Linked DNA regions of Homo sapiens: regions 1 and 2 are each linked to region 3. Evidence: promoter capture Hi-C in 16 types of primary human blood cells and fetal thymus (Javierre and others, 2016). All regions are on one chromosome and are shown on one strand. The core of a region is centred on a gene start or on the middle of the fragment in contact, and the rest is flanking DNA. Distances in the headings are between cores, read along the strand shown.

The links. Contacts are between HindIII fragments. The CHiCAGO score rates a contact against its expected background, and 5 or more counts as called.
Region 1: a fragment that was not itself captured here is called in contact with the fragment with the promoter of IDNK in region 3 in 2 of 17 cell types (activated CD4 T cells and naive CD8 T cells); the score reaches 6.4 in activated CD4 T cells.
Region 2: a contact is called between a fragment that was not itself captured here and the fragment with the promoter of IDNK in region 3, in 1 of 17 cell types (non-activated CD4 T cells). The highest score is 5.8, in non-activated CD4 T cells.

Annotation. Positions count from the first base shown.
Region 1 is chr9:83,792,061-83,795,622 of GRCh38, reverse strand. The region is part of intron 4 of GKAP1 (G kinase anchoring protein 1); the gene reads left to right. Among named protein-coding and RNA genes, the nearest start is that of GKAP1, 24 kb to the left of the region's middle. The HindIII fragment of the contact is 5,208 bases long and covers 1-3,562 here.
Region 2 is chr9:83,828,780-83,831,940 of GRCh38, reverse strand. LOC101927552 (a long non-coding RNA gene) reads right to left here. Exons shown (of 6, transcript XR_001746793.2): 3 at 988-1,073; 4 at 329-378. Among named protein-coding and RNA genes, the nearest start is that of GKAP1, 13 kb to the right of the region's middle. The HindIII fragment of the contact is 4,857 bases long and covers 1-3,161 here.
Region 3 is chr9:83,621,292-83,624,395 of GRCh38, reverse strand. IDNK (IDNK gluconokinase) reads right to left here and starts at 1,253. Exons shown (of 5, transcript NM_001001551.4): 1 at 1,175-1,253. The coding sequence starts at 1,224. RefSeq lists enhancers at 649-698, 719-848 and a silencer at 1,029-1,558. The HindIII fragment of the contact is 10,566 bases long and covers 1-2,634 here.

The sequences.
Region 1 (3,562 bases), core at 901-3,400, 170 kb before region 3:
GAGACCCTATCTCAAAAAAAAAAAAAAAAAAAAAGACACTCTCAGACATAACCATAACTGAGAGAGTATACCACCATTATCCTTTCTGCAAATTTTTCTGAGATGTGCTCCTGTCAATTAAAAAGAAAATCTAAATAAAGAGCACAAACAATAAAAAAAACACTAGTGGTGAGTATTTAAGCTAGTTCAATAAAGAATTAACTCTAAGTAGCAGCTAACTTGTATCTATCCCAGCACACTTCATTGTGGAAAAGTGGTCTTATATTCCCTACTCATTTATTTGCTTAGATGTATATATCAAAAGATGTGTATGTTTCTTAATTGAAATGAGTGTCATGTGATACATGATGTATAAAATGATATGTAAATTATATCCCAGTAAAGCTGTTTTTAAAAAAATACGTAGGGCATGGCTTTGACTTGGTTGTATGCATAATTTTCACTTTTTTTTTTTTTTTTTTTTTTTGAGATGGAGTCTCGCTCTTGTCGCCCAGACTGGAGTGCAGTGGCACAATCTCGGCTCACTGTGACCTCCGCCTCCCGGATTCAAGCGATTCTCCTACCTCAGCCTCCTGAGTAGCTGGGATTACAGGCATGTGCCACCACGCCCGGCTAGTTTTTTGTATTGTTTTTTAGTGGAGGTGGGATTTTACAGGCCAGGCTGGTCTCGAACTCCTGACCTCAGATGATCCTCCCCTCCCCACCTCCACCTACCAAAGTGCTGGGATTACAGGCGCGAGCCACCACACCCAGCCACTGTTTTTTAAAACGATTAAATCAAGATCAAGAAACATATTGTTCACCAACAGCTGTTGCCTAGGAATAAATCTCTGTGTAGATGTTTTTCAGGTATAATCTGCTTTATGCATGATGCACTGATACTATTGATTCCAGTGTACCTTTTTTTAAAAGTCATGACTCAAAAAATAAGTAGAAAAATCTCTTCTTAAGGGTTTCAGTGATTAACAGACCAAATTTTATTGTGTATTTCTTCTGTTACTGTATTGATTCAAACTCTACACGTCACTGGTATTTTTCTCACTCTGAAGTGACATGTCTGTTAGTATGTGCACAATAGCAAGTTCTCTCTTACGTGACATCCTTCAGTTCATTTGATAAAGGTTTTTTTCCAATAGCTTGTTCTGGTTTTGTTTGTTTGTGAGTGTAATATTTATCATTAACTGTGTGGCTGGTATAATAAATCCCTTGGCAGTAGTTTGACTACCTGGTTTCCTTATAAGGAGTGTAAATTCAAATAAATCCATTGTATTTTTGGCTCTTTAGCAACAAAATTAATCACTTTTATGCTGGAAAGCATTACTTAGTAGTTGTTCTGGAAAGACTCCTACAGGTCCCTTGGCTTTGTTTGAAAGTGAAACAAAAACTGTGATATCTTCAGGCCACTGGTCTCACCAAGTTTCTTTCTCTCTCTTTTTTAATTTTCATATATTTTTTGAGATGGGGTCTTACTCCCATCGCCCAAGCTGGAATGCAGTGGTGTGATCATGGCTAACTGCAGCCTTGACTCCCAGGCTCAGATGATTCTCCCGCCTCAGCCTCCCAAGTAGCTGGGACTACAGGCACACTCCACCATGGCTGGCTAATTTTTTGTATTTTTAGTAGAGATGGGGTTTTGCCATGTTGCCCAGGCTGGTCTTGAACTCCTGGTCTCAAGCAGTCCACATACCTCAGCTTCCCAAAGTGCTGGGATTGTAGGCATGAGCCACCACACCCAGTCTTCTGACCAGATTTCATGACAGGTAGCTAGGAGCAAATAGATGGATGACTCAAATGAAAATTTTAAATATTCATTATCTTAATTTTCTGTTTATAACTTTCCTTTTCTGCTCCTTTTGTGACATCACTCTCATCCTAACACATACACGTTTATATTCTATATTCACTGTATTGGAGTCCTGTTAATTTCAAAATTTATTGTGTTTTTATAAGTTGCATTATTTACGGTTCTATTTTCATTACTACTTTTAATTCTTTTGTGACTCATGAACCATTTTTATTGCTTGGAGGTGTGATAAAGCATACAACAAAAATACAGACTTAGTAAATGCAAACAGCACTCAGAAGACATAAAAATACATTAGCTGAGATGAACTGAATGTGGTAATGAATGTGAATTATATATGTCATTTTTGTAGAACTCTGACAACCTTTAGAATAATTATGTTCAATAAGACTACTGTAAGATTTCTGGGAAAATAATCTTGCCTTCCAAATTACTGAAAGATATGTAGTCTACACTTTGAAAATCTAATGGGTTAGGGGACCACTATGCACCACTGCTATTAAGTCCAATCAGTTGGCTGCAAGTGTTAGATGTCTTCAGAATGGTGATCTCTTTTGTTTTATAGTAACTATATTTCCATGTTGCCTATGAGAATTGAAGACTAACTCTTCATTTGGAATTTATTTTGTTTGGATTTAAATGAGTAAAATTGTAATGGTACTTAGACTTACAAATTAATTTTTAAAAAATGTTAGTACCAAAATATTTACTGTCCTTTAGGTTTTTCATTGGTTCTTCATACTCTTTAACTGATTGAGCTATAGGTTTGCTTAAATAGAAGAAAAAATGTTTTACTACTAGATGGGGAGTAGGAGGCAATGAGGAAGTCAAGAGGAAGGGGATCTGAAGTACTCCATCTTGGACACATGTAAGTATCTTCTTGAATTCTGTAGGCATTTTAGTGCCTGCTATTTCCTCTTTTTCTTCCTTTCCTCCTACTCCCATAAATAAAAAGAAAATAATAAGGAACTTCCCATTCGCAAACTTAAACAAGGTACTTTTTTAAAAGTATGCTTTTATTTGCATTTTATTGCCTGGAGCCTGTCTTATAGGCCCAGTCTCTGTCTCTGTCTCCCTCTCTCTTTTACCTATACATTTACTGATTAAGTAGATTGTCAGCTATAGTTATAGCAGTCTTTGATAGAGAATAAAGATATGTTTAGAGAATTTTGAATCACATTTTCTTTCTCTTTTCTGATATGTGTTAGTCTTGTGCTACCATTCTCCCTGTTATCTAAGGTCAAAAACCTTATCTTTGATTCTTTCACACTTCATATTGTCAGTGTTCCAAAACTTGATCAGTCTCTTCTTTATTTTCTGCGCTGCTACATTTTGGTCCAGGTGCCCATATGCTGTCTGAGATTACAATGGCTTAGTCAGACACATTGATTCTAGGTTCTCATTCTTCTAATATTCCAGTTTATATCTTAAAAATTACTTTTATTTAATATTAGCATTCCTCTTTTTTCTGCCCTATAGCCTTAAATTTTAGGAAGTGTCTGGAACCTTATGCTGCCCTAACTAAGCAATCTTATTTTCTACTATTCTCCAACATGGGAGAGTAATTCTAATTCATTTGGTACTGCTCTTATGCCAGGAACTGTGCTAGGTACTTCATACATATTACAACTTTAAGTCCTTAAAACTACCTTGTACAGTTGATATTCCAATGTCCTTTTTAAATGTTCTGAGATTCACAGGAGTTAATATAACTTGTTCAAAGTCACAGCTAGCATGGGTGGAATAGGAATTTAAATT
Region 2 (3,161 bases), core at 553-3,052, 210 kb before region 3:
AGGCAGGTGGATCACGAGGTCAGGAGTTCAAGACCAGCCTGGCCATGATGAAACCCCATCTCTACTAAAAATACAAAATTAACCGAGTGTGGTGGCACACCTATAGTTCCAGCTACTCGGAAGGCTGAGGCAGGAGAATTGCTTGTACTCGTGAGGCAGAGGTTGCAGTGAGCCGAGATCGCGCCATTGCACTCCAGCCTGGGCAACAGAGGGAGACTCCGTCTCAAAAAAAAAAAAGTTACGTGGTCTGCCTTATTTTTAAACGAACCATTCCTTGGACCCCACGCCACACTTACCAACAACAAATCATAGGCATGTACTTACTTACCTTTCATTTCCCACAATGATCCAGGATTCCAATAGCTCTAAGACAGATGACTGGAGTGGGAGGGAGACGGGGGAAAGAGGTTTATTTGAAAGCATTCCATAGACAAGCAGAGGATTTTCAAAAAATATTTTGAGAGAATATATTTCTCTGGCATAAGGACTGAAACTTAAATTCAACCTTTGGCTATCTCTAAACACTAAAGAATACTCTTGGTTAGTACTGACTTTGCCATTAAAAAATAACTTTTTTATACTGGTTTTTATTTTTCATACTGGTATATTTTTATACTGGTTCCTTTTCCTATGTTTACTATTCACTCAGGATATTATGAAAAGAAGCCATCCTAGATCGAATTTGAATAGAAATTGTGGAGCCATTCGATAGAGAATTACAAGAAATAGCAGTTTGTGGTAAATTCCAATGGCCTAACAACATACACTGAAGGAAAGCAGTTAGGACTTAAGTGATTTTACCTTTGAAGAACCATGAATGATATACCAAAACAAACAAAAAAATTGCTGTAGGCAAAATGGGATTTATTTTTGTAAAACAATGATATCTCGACTATTTTGCTTATTTTTTTTCCTCTGCTAAAATGTCCCTGAATTTGTCTACCGAAAAACCTGTGTATAAAAAAACTTTAATTCAAGATTACAAACCAGCAGCTACTCGCCTGCCTTGAGGGGCTGGATTAATATTATTCATTTTCATTTGCGGGCTGTAGTTGCACTTCACTGTCTATCCTCTAGGAATGAAAAGGAGTGAGGAGTTATCCGAGTTCAACTAACTGATAATTTTCATAATAATTTATAACTATTAAAGTCAAAGTTTTGTTGTTACTTTCTAGCATGCTTTTTCTAGATGGGAATAATGGGAACAGGGCAAGGTATTTTAATACTGAGGAGTTAATCTCCTTTTGAAATTCCCATCACCTGGGAGGGTTGGACAGCATCTGAATTGTTCCATTCAAGGCCTGGGGCTAAGCCCATCTGTTTCACTAGACATTTTCCTGGCTAGCTCCAGGTGTCACCAGCTGTTAGACATGACTAGAATGACACAGCCTGTAATTTTATTAATAGAGTACATTAAATGACATTTTCTAAACCAAACAGCCTTTAAAAAACTATTTATGAATCACTACCCTGCATTTAATATCAAAATCATATTTTTCAAATGAAACACAAATTAGGGAAATTACTATTTTTGTTACATAGTGAATATTTTTGTTACATACCCTTGCTTTATCAAATAAATGCTTTATCAAATGAAAGCACTTTGAAAATTGAAGCATCATATATGTTTAAGATTAAATTATAAGTAAGTTTTCCATACAGTTGGATGTCAAAATGGGATAACTGTTTGGAACACATGGTTGTTTATTTTACATATATGCAAATCATAAGACATCTTCTAAACAAATTCTCAGTTTTAGTTATATATATCTTCTAAACAAATTCCCAATTTTAGTTATGTATGTTTCAACAGTATAAATAAGAGTATTCTCTGGGAAGATTAATGTGAATTCTAGCAAAAATATTTTAAAGACTTGCTGAATCTATTTTTATAGGCATAGAAGTGCTTCATGACTATTTCGTTGATTTATGAGTGAAAGAGGATGTTTTTTACTGGATCTTTGGCCACCAGTTTTTGGCTATTTATTACTTATTTTTTTAGTAACAGTTACATTTGTGAGCTATTGAACTATGGCTGGAAAATAACTTTTCTTAAAACTGATAAGAATTTTAAACTATTTTTCCCCAAAGAAACTATAAAACAAGTAGTTAATTTTTTTTGCACATGTATAGGTATATGATCAAATAAAAAGCAAATCAGTCCTCATTTAGCATCTGAGACTTTTAGCTCCTAAATACAACAAGTGTATTAATTTTAACATTACCACAGTGGCCTCTCCTTCATAAACATTCAGAAGGAAGCTCATTCCCCTTAGTTTGCAAGTATCTGCCAGTGTAAGGAACATTTTGTCTCTAGATCACAGCACCTATGACCTGAGCAGCCAAGGAAAGAGAAGGTCAAGACTTTAAGGGTAATGGAACCTACAATCATAAGTATTCTAGTGGATTGTGAACAAATAAATCAGAAAAGAAGAATACTAACATACAGTTTTCCTGAGTTACCTTAAGTGGTATGAGGTATTCTTAGTAAGGTTTATTACAAAATTCAGTATCTCCCATGAGAAAGGAAGCTAGGTTTAAGCATTTGATTATGTGAGTTTAGTTGGCCCTTCACCCTTCAAGACATGGGCCAGTACCGTGGGGTTTAGTTCTTATATGGGAAATAATCTGTACCTCTTCCAAAGGGTGGGCTGGTAGCTAAAGTTATTTATTTCCTGAAAATATAAAAAAATGGCATCTATATGTAAATGCTAAAATGTAAAGATGGAAATTTCTACAGGCTTTTAATTTATAGGCATTTTCCTGCTTTATATTTTCTATCAACCTTTATATTTTTGCTGATAGAGTTGAAAACTAAAAGCCCTATCCCTCAAGGAACTTACAGTCCAGTGACATTACTTATGGAGAGAGTAAAGCAGGGTAAGGAGACAGAAAATTAGGGGTGCTTTTTCAGATGGAAATATGTTTCTGAGCTCACATATATATAAAGCTGTAAGAACTACATGTAAACATACTGATCAAAAAATGCTCTTCTAATGTATGCATGCTCAAAAGAAGCAAGTATCATAAATTGTATCTGAACACGGAAATCACATCCAACCAGCTTTGATGGAAGGAGAAGAGCACTTTACAGTTTTAAGTCTTACATTTGGGTCTCTGATCAATTTTGAATTAGTTTTTGTACATGGTATGAGTTAAGG
Region 3 (3,104 bases), core at 4-2,503:
GCTCAATAATTACTGAGTACATGAATATCACAAGCTATACATCATAGGGATTAGGCCTCCCTCATCTGATTCAAGACTCAGAGGGGGTACATGAACTGCCCAGGCTCACACAGCCAGACAGCAACAGAACCAAGACCTAGGGCTCTTCACTCCTGTTACATCACACCATGGCAATGATTTTACATTCTCCAACTGATTCAAATCATATGGCAGCTAGGGATTTGGGGGCTCCATGTTTTATTTCAATTGCAGTTCAAGATTTCTTTTTATCTTTGTGGCTGAGAACCCTACAATAATTTTGGAAAGCAAAACCCATCTACCTGGAGTAAATCTTTAATATACACCTGACTACACAGGCCACAACATGGGCCGTTCCTGATTCAGAAAATTCTAGAAGGGTCCTATAGGCCCTTGAAGGTTATGATGTTTTAGCTGATCAAGTTCTGTCCTTTGCTGCCTGTGGTCGAATGGTACAGCAGCTGTCTTTTCTGATAAAGGGCACAGTTAGACTTTGGTTTAAACAGGAAGCCAAATGTTAACTCCTCAGTCTCCAGGTTAGCACACTGGGCTACCTCTGTGGTTTCCACAATTCTCTTCTTTCTTTCCAAACCCTCAGGAGCCACCCTCCATATTAACGCTGTCTCCTTCCAGGTTAAGCTGATGAAAGGAAGGGGAAAACGATTCACTTTCCAAAATTGAATCGGAGAAGTCCAGGGCCTCATAGGAGGAGGCCGCTGTGTGTCCAGATGGCCAAAGGTCTGTGAGAGCCTGGGCCGTGGTTTGCGTCCTCTCGCTAGAGGCCGTGCGCCCTCCCGCCTGGCCCCGACAAGGCGCCCCGAAACCTAGCCCCGCGCCGCTCGCTAGGCCTCCACCTGCGCGGCCCCGCAGCCGCCTGTTCAGGAGCGGCTTCCTCCCTGAGCCTGCGGTCGCCGCAGCCTCCCCGTCTTAGAGCGGGAACCCGGAGCTCGGATGCGGTCCCAGGATGGGCGCCCCGCGAGCAGGCTGGAGGGCGGGGAGAGGGCGCGGCAGCCGCGGGCCTCGGTTTCTTCATCTGCAAAGGGAAGGGTGGGGGGTCCCCAAGACCCCAGTCCACCGGCAGGGACGGCGACGCGTCCGGCCTCCGCCGCGCCCGCAACACTTGTCCCGGGCGCCCCCCGCCCTCTCCCGGACCTACTTCCCCGAGCCGCTCACGCCCATCACCAGCAGCGCGCCCGGCGCCGCCATAACCCAAGCTCGGCTCCTTCCCGTCGCCTTCCGGGCCCCGCCGGCCCCGGCCTACCCGGCGCTCGAGGGGCGGAGCCGCTCTCGCCCCGGCCGGGGCAGTGAGGGCCGTGCCCCTCTGCGCCCTCCCCGTTTTCCCGCGCCCCTTTTCCATGCTTTCCTCCTCCCTTTCCCAACCTCCCGGCCTCTCTCTCCTGCCCCTTCTTTTCCTCTCCCCTCCCCTCCCTCTTTCCTCTTCCCGGAAGTGAAGCGCGCGCCCGGCCTGGCACTCGCGTCTCCCTGGGCTGGAGGGAGCCGCCCAAAGCCCCGCCACCTGTCGTTCTACTGCCCCGGCCCCTCTTGGTTCCAGAGGATCCTCACCCTGGCAGGCCGGATCCTCATCCACCCATGGAAAGCATTCATTCATTCATTTATAAAAATGTTCTTGTAAAAAGAATAAACAGAAAATAAGACTCATAATTTCCCACACCAGGCAGCAATAAGCAGCACTTCCTAAAACGACTCCCCTTTCCCCGCGCCCCGTCGTAGATAGATGGGTATGAGTATTTTGTAAAACTGGGATCAGGCCGTACACAGCGTTTTGTAATCTGGCCTTTTGTCACAATAATAAATGGCGGCCATCTTTTGGTGTCAAACTTAGGGTTGAGTGTTGACCGTAGCAGCATATGTCTTGGCTGTATGGCTCTGCTGTTAAATCCAGCACTGGTTGGGGCTTTAAGAGGAAGGAGCACCACTTTAAAGTGTCCATTTGCTTTAAAACAATGTTAATTATGTGTCGTTTGAACTATTTGATTAAAAGCACTTCTTTTTTTTTTTGAGACGGAGTCTCGCTCTGTCGCCCAGGTGGGACTGCGGACTGCAGTGGCGCAATCTCGGCTCACTGCAAGCTCCGCTTCCCGGGTTCACGCCATTCTCCTGCCTCAGCCTCCCGAGTAGCTGGGACTACAGGCGCCCGCCACCGCGCCCGGCTAATTTTTTTTGTATTTTTAGTAGAGACGGGGTTTCACCTTGTTAGCCAGGATGGTCTCGATCTCCTGACCTCATGATCCACCCGCCTCGGCCTCCCAAAGTGATTAAAAGCACTTCTAACCGCATTTGGCATCACCTCCTTTGGTCTTTTGTTAACCAAGGTAGGTATTACTCTGTGTCCTAGAAAACAATAAAAGTGACATAAAAGCATTTATCTAATGAATAGTTCAATTACCCCTGCACTGCCTTTGTTTTTCATATACTTAGCCCGAGTAGGTGAGATTTCAATCTGGATGGGGGCTGTACAGGTGAAGAAATTGAGGCTTGGAGAGAGGTCTTACAATTCAGTTATGGTCAATACACATTTCTTGAACATCTACCATGTGCTGGTTAATATCATATTAATATTCATTTAAAAGATTACCCTCTAGGCATTCTCAAGCTTGATAAGAGGAATAGATGTGTATGCAAATACTCTTAACTCGTGCCCTGCTTCGCTAGCTCAGTATGAAAAAAAAAAGCTCATATTTCTTTCAATGTTCAAATCAGAATGATTAGCAGAAAATCTGATTCTTCTCCTTGGATTTCTTTCCCCAGACATGTCCAAGGATCTTAAACTTGCTGTGCTGCTCAGGGTGGTGGCAGGAAACAGCATGCTCAAATTGGGGCAGGTGAACAGGATTTAACAAAGGGACTATTAGCACAGGTGTGGGTAGGGTCAGAAAAAGCAACTAGGGGCAGAGTCCACATCTGAGTAACCGAGAAGTGTTTTCACTCTTAAATAGAAAGGGGCTGATGAGAGGGAGCCTTTATATGGGAAGGGAAGAGAATGGAAGGAGAGAGACAGAGAGAATAGACCATATAGAAAGAAGTGTCTGACAGGACTGTAGCCTTAGGAAGAGAGAGATAGACAT